Linked DNA regions of Homo sapiens: region 1 is linked to region 2. Evidence: promoter capture Hi-C in 16 types of primary human blood cells and fetal thymus (Javierre and others, 2016). All regions are on one chromosome and are shown on one strand. The core of a region is centred on a gene start or on the middle of the fragment in contact, and the rest is flanking DNA. Distances in the headings are between cores, read along the strand shown.

Region 1 (3,579 bases), core at 824-3,323, 130 kb before region 2:
AATTCAATGCAATCCGTATTAAAATTCCAATGATGTTTTCCTCATGAGTAGAGGGGAAAAATCCTAAATTTTATATGGAACCACAAAAGTTGTGAATAGCCAAAGCAGTCCTGAACAAAAAGAACAAGTGCTGATGAGGATGCAGAGACAAAGGAACATTTGCACACTGTTGGTGGGAATGTAGACTAGTACAGCCATTATGGGGAAAAACTATGGCAGTTCCTTAAATTAAACTCTCATATAAAGTATAACTCTCATATGATCCAATAAACCCTCTTCTTGATGGATATCCACAGGAAATGAAAACCTCATGTTGAAAATAGGTCTGCACTCACATGTTCATTACAGCACTACTCACTATACCCAAGATATGGAATCAACCTAAATGGCCATCAACAGATGAGTGGAGAATGTGGTATGTATACACAACGGGATACTATTCAGCCTTAAAATCCCATCACTTGCAACAATATGGATGAATGTGGATGGCATTATGTTATAAGCCAGGCACAGAAAGACAAATACTATATAATCTCTCATATGTAATCTACAAAAGTGGAGATAGATGATGTTCAACAAAGCCAGCAATAACAAGCAATAGGGAAAGGACCCCCCTATTCAATAAATAGTGCTGGGATAACTGGCTAGCCATATGCAGAAGATTACTCCTGGATCCCTTCCTTACACCATATAAAAGAATCAATTCAAGATGGATTAAAGATTTAAATGCAAGTCTGAATAAAAAAACATATCTGATACCAGCCCTGTAGTTTGAACCTACTTCAGGGAATCCAGTACAATATAGTCAGTTCAGAGAAGTTGGCATGATTACGGATCCTGTGAGGGACAATTCTGCTTCAGAGAAAGAGAAAAGCAGGCTAGGGCTCCAGGGGAAAATCAAGGTACAAATAAGTGAAATTATCAAAATTATATATTATCTGGGCCCAAAACAATTCATTTGACGACAGATTTCTGAGGACTGTGGTCAATAAGCTTGGTGGTAAGCTTGAGCACTCAGAGTATCCCGGGGACACCAGGGGACAAGCCAGTACTAAGTACTCGACTTATTTAAACTTCATAAAAACCCTCCTGTATTATCTCAACCCTGTCCCTGTTCAGCCCTGCTGTAGGGCTCTCAACCTTCTGCCTGTTTGGCCTGGTAATGAGGCCCCAATCCTATCCCTCCACAGCCTAGTTTTCCATTTCTGAAGCCTGATTCTCTTTCCACAAATCAGGCTCCCTTGAAGCCTCAGGCTCCCCTGAAGCCTGGGTCTCTCTCGGAAAATCAGGTTCCCTTGAAGCCTGGGTCTCTCTCGGAAAATGTTTCCCTTGAAGCCTGGATCTCTCTTGGAATATCGGGTTCCCTTTAAGAAACCTCAGGCTCCCCTGTAGCCTGGTCTGCAATTACCGGGGCAGCCTGGATTTCAGGCCCATGAAAGATCTGCTCGGCAGGTAATCTCGTCTCATCCTGGTTTACAGGTTCTCAACTTTTCCTCCATTCAAAATTCCAACTTTTTTCTGCTTCTGGTCCGGTGGCTACTGTGACAAGTCACATACATTCCTAAAAATGAGACTCCTCTTATGAGGGCTATAGCACAGGCAAGAGAATATGGGGATCCCGAAGCCTGGCAATTTCCTCTAATTTTACAACCTCCAATACCTGCCTTCCCTGTGGCAAAAAATCAGCCACAACCCACTGATCTTGCTCAGCAGGCGGCTGATCTTGCGGCACCTTCACGCTCCGTGTTAATATCTTGTTTTTCTGCAGCACAACTGCAGTTGCAACAGCCAGTTTGGTTATTGCCCCAGAAAAAATCCAGACTTCTTCTCCTTATCACTATTTAGGAATGCAGCTAGAAGACAAGGTTATTAAGCCCCAAAAAATCATTGTTCCCCTCACCTGATTACAAGTCCAACAGGCTTTTGCAACCTGCATTGCTTGGCAAGTACATTTGGCACGTTTCCCGGGTATAACTGATTATCATTATCCTAATGCAAAACTATTCCGGTTCCTTAAACTCACTTCTTGGATCTTACCTTAACATTACTAGAAACACACCATTAGCTGAAGCTGTCACTGTTTTTACTGATGCTTCCTGTAATAATGGCCAAGCAGCATGTACCGGGCCAAGAGAATGTGTTCTTAACACAGGAGTTATTTCAGCACAACGAGCTGAGCTGATCGCTGTCATGGCTGTTCTTGAAGATTTCCCTGAACCAGTTAACATCGTTTCTGATTCGGCCTATGTAGTACATGTTGCTCGCAACGTTGAAACTGCCTTAATCAAACTTCTGCCTGATAACCTAATTTTTCTTTTCCAAAAGTTTCAATCCGTACTCACAGCAAGGTCTTCTTTCTACATTACTCATTCGGGCTCACACACCCCTCCCCGGACCCCTCTCGGCAGCAAATGCCAAAGCTGATACATTAGTTGCTCCCGTTTTTACAGATGCAGAAAATGTTCATGCTTTAACTCATGTCAGTGCTGCAGGACTCTGGAAAAAGTTCCCCTTTACAGGCAAACAAGCTAAAACCATCGTACATCACTGTCCTACTTGTCAAGTGTTAATGTTACAGCCACTTTCTTCAGGAGTTAATCCTAGAGGACTTTCACAAAATGCTCTCTGGCAAATGGATGTGACTCATTATCCTGCTTTCGGCAAACTCTCTTTTATACATTAACTATTGACACCTTTTCTCATTTTATCTGGGTCACTTGTCAAACAAGGGAAAGTATATGGTTCATGTTAAACGACACATACTTTCATCTTTCTCAGTTATGGGCTGTCCCGAGAAACTAAAAACTAATGACGGCCCCGGCTACACTAGTGCTGCTTTTTTACACTAAATTTCTTAAATTTAGTAAGAAATCAACCTTTTACAGCAGCAGAACATTTCACTGGAAATAAATTTGATCCACAAAAAGGAAAAGCGGGTATGGTGGAAAGATGCAAAACTGACAAACAGGAATCAGGCACTGTGGTAACATGGGGTAGGGGTTTTGCTGTGTTTGCCCAAAAGAAGGACAACAACCCGTGTGGGTTCCCTCCCGGCAACTGAAATTGCACTATAACTTCAAAGATAAAAAGCTCTCAGAAACAAAAGGCGAAGAAACGTCAGAAATTGAAAGGCAAGCTTTGCCGCCTGACACATAAATTCCATGACCTCAACATTATGACACAATCTCACCGTGTGACCTACAATACCAGTCATTCTACTCCACCAACATGGGGTCAAATAAAGGTCTTATCACATCAAACGGAAAAATTACTACAAGAAAAAGGAATTCCAAAAACAGGTAATATAATTCTGGCTGCCTTTATGGTAGTCAGTGTAGTGGTGAGTATACCAGCAGTTGGGGCAACTCAAAATTATGCTTCTTGCACATATGTTCCTTTTCCCCCTTTAATTCAGTCTGTCTCCTGGATGGACTCCTCAGTAGAAGTTTACACTAATAATAGTGCCTTCATGCCAGCCCCTAATGATGACAGCTTTCCAGCTCAACCAGAAGGAGATGTGCACTTTAATTTGTCAATCGGCTATAAATATCCACCACTGTGCATTGGAATGTCACCTGG
Region 2 (3,269 bases), core at 389-2,888:
AAAAGAGAAGCAATCCAGTAACTAGTAGGCACCCTAAGAGTTAGACCAGAGATGAGAAAACATAAAATATATTGATGTAGGCTGCAAACAACTCTTGGCATAATATGAAAGGAGCCCTGAAAATGGCAGGGAACTGAGTCACCTGCCCCAAGCCACACATTGGAAGGAGCTTTGTGGAGGCAGCCAGGGCATCCTAGCAGGTGTGAAAAATAACTAAGAGCCAATTATCCTCCCCAGAAAGAAGAGGATGCACCAAGAGTGTGAACTAGAATGGAAGAAAAAATATTACTGATCATAAGATATATCTTAGCCAACAACTAAATATTTTAAGATATTCCTTTATTTAATATCCTCAGAAACCCCATGAAGAGTGTATTTTATTATTTGTTGCCATTTCTTCATTCCATTGAAAATGGGATTCAATATGGCTGTCTTCTCAGAAGGCACTCTCTGAAGCCATTCCACATGGAACATTTAGTAAATCTATTTACTCACAAGCCCACCATTCTCTGAAACCATAAAGCTATTTAGGACTCAGGCACATAGCATGATGCAGGAAAAAATAGTCAATGCTCAAAATATGCCTGTGAATGAATCCACTAATGAGTGAAGAAGAATATTCTAGGAAGTAAATGATGAAGTTACATGTTCATTTCTACCAGCAGAAGAATTTCTCAAATATCAAGAACTGCAACCCCTCTTCATCCCCCAGAAATAACTCTTTACCTAATTTCAGTCACTTCTAAGCCTAGTTCCCTGGGGTGTGAGCACAAAGAGTGCCTCATCTCAGATAAAGAGGTACCTTGACCCTCTTCATAAGTGAGCAAACTGTATGTGGTGAAGTCAGAGGTTTCAAATCTCATTTCTATCAATTGCTGCTTTGTGACAAGTGGCAAGTTATTCACATTGTCTAAGACTCACTTTCCTTAAGTGTGAAATAGGGGTACTATCCAGTTCTAAGAGTGGATGTCTACTCCCTGCATTAAGAACGTACAAAGTGCAAACTACAGCCCGTGGCATAAAGTGATGCTTAATAAACATTAGCTAAATTCTCCTGCGACTGTAATACAATAAGATTTTGTCCACTCCTGGAACACCACTGGCCTTTTAGGCTTTAGTGTCTTCAATCAATCAACGTTCCAACAAATATCAACAGATCATCTTTCTAAACTAATGACTGCCCCTGTGTAAAGGATGGGGCCTAAGAGTGAAGTTGTGATCGAAGCCCTTCACATTCAGGAAAAACCTGCCTATACCATCACCTCCCTTGTTCTCCTCAGTACTCCTTATGCACCAGCCACCCTGGCCTGAAAATATTTCAGAAACATACTGTGCATTGATCTGTACACTCACCTTTTCTTATGCTACTTTCTTTCTCTCTTCATTATTAACTTTACGATAAACTACTCAATTTTAAGTATCACCTTATTCAGCTTTCCCACACAGAAATAATAATTTCCTCTGTATATTCATAATCCTCCATTCATAATTAAAGCGCATACAATAATGTCTCTTATTCTGATTACTTGGAGATATTGTCTGGCTGTCATTCATTAGAGTATAGACCACCACCTTTCATATTTGCATGTTTGTTATTTACATGTTCAAAGAAGACGAAGATTATGGAATATGCCATAAGCTCCTGGTGACATCGCAAAGAATGTTGCAGATTTTATCTTCTTCTACCTCTGTGAGTAGGAGGTGAGGTTCTGAAAGTTCTCCCCAGCTATGCCTACTGTAAACCACAGTGGCACTAGCCACACAGTCTTCCACTTGCTGGGCATCCCTGGCCTACAGGACCAGCACATGTGGATTTCTATCCCATTCTTCATTTCCTATGTCACCGCCCTTCTTGGGAACAGCCTGCTCATCTTCATTATCCTCACAAAGCGCAGCCTCCATGAACCCATGTACCTCTTCCTCTGCATGCTGGCTGGAGCAGACATTGTCCTCTCCACGTGCACCATTCCTCAGGCCTTAGCTATCTTCTGGTTCCGTGCTGGGGACATCTCCCTGGATCGTTGCATCACTCAGCTCTTCTTCATCCATTCCACCTTCATCTCTGAGTCAGGGATCTTGCTGGTGATGGCCTTTGACCACTATATTGCCATATGCTACCCACTGAGGTACACCACCATTCTTACAAATGCTCTGATCAAGAAAATTTGTGTGACTGTCTCTCTGAGAAGTTATGGTACAATTTTCCCTATCATATTTCTTTTAAAAAGATTGACTTTCTGCCAGAATAATATTATTCCACACACCTTTTGTGAACACATTGGCCTAGCCAAATATGCATGTAATGACATTCGAATAAACATTTGGTATGGGTTTTCCATTCTAATGTCGACGGTGGTCTTAGATGTTGTACTAATTTTTATTTCCTATATGCTGATTCTCCATGCTGTCTTCCACATGCCTTCTCCAGATGCTTGCCACAAAGCTCTCAACACATTTGGCTCCCATGTCTGCATCATCATCCTCTTTTATGGGTCTGGCATCTTCACAATCCTTACCCAGAGGTTTGGACGCCACATTCCACCTTGTATCCACATCCCGTTGGCTAATGTCTGCATTCTGGCTCCACCTATGCTGAATCCCATTATTTATGGGATCAAAACCAAGCAAATCCAGGAACAGGTGGTTCAGTTTTTGTTTATAAAACAGAAATAACTTTGGTTTAAGAACTGAGTTTTCAGAATCTCTAGCTATCTGGTAAGTGGGTATGAAAGTGGTAGATGGGAGAGGTCAGCTGATACCGTAGGAAATAACTCAGTGAGTACGATGTCTGGAGCAAGGTCAACTGGGAAGTTACAGGGCTTATTCTTCCATTTTTTAAACAACCTAGGAAAGCAATGCAATGTTTGACTGAACAAACTACCTCCTGCACAGAGCCTGAGAGAGAATAGATTGATTTTTCAGAAGTCATGTATCCTTAACAGGACAACACTATCATAATCTTCGGAAATAAAGTGGGAACAGTGCTCTGGCATTGGAATTTGTTCAGCCATCCTGTACTGAGTTTCTGAAGCTCTGAGACACGTTGTATTCATGTAAAGTCACGTACAAACCTCCATTCTTTTATGTCCTTCATTCTAGCTAAGTGACATTCTTAGAATCAGTGATTCCTAGGTTTTCCATTTATTTCTATTATGTTATAATTTATATCCTATGAACATGAATGTCTATAATAGAGGATTGCAAATAAATTATGTGATTCATATTTTGCAGAACAACCCTTGAGGAACCTGAGTCTGATCATTTTTGTG

The links. The method cuts DNA at HindIII sites, captures the fragments that hold promoters and counts their contacts. A CHiCAGO score of 5 or more calls a contact.
Region 1: a fragment that was not itself captured here is called in contact with the fragment with the promoter of OR52B4 in region 2 in 5 of 17 cell types (monocytes, M0 macrophages, neutrophils and 2 more); the score reaches 8.9 in monocytes.

What each region holds. Positions count from the first base shown.
Region 1 is chr11:4,495,285-4,498,863 of GRCh38, reverse strand. No RefSeq gene overlaps it. Among named protein-coding and RNA genes, the nearest start is that of OR52K1, 14 kb to the right of the region's middle. RefSeq lists an enhancer at 2,519-3,579. The HindIII fragment of the contact is 2,131 bases long and covers 1,008-3,138 here.
Region 2 is chr11:4,366,755-4,370,023 of GRCh38, reverse strand. OR52B4 (olfactory receptor family 52 subfamily B member 4) reads left to right here and starts at 1,638. Exons shown (of 1, transcript NM_001005161.3): 1 at 1,638-2,761. The coding sequence starts at 1,729. The coding sequence ends at 2,673. The HindIII fragment of the contact is 6,509 bases long and covers 1-3,269 here.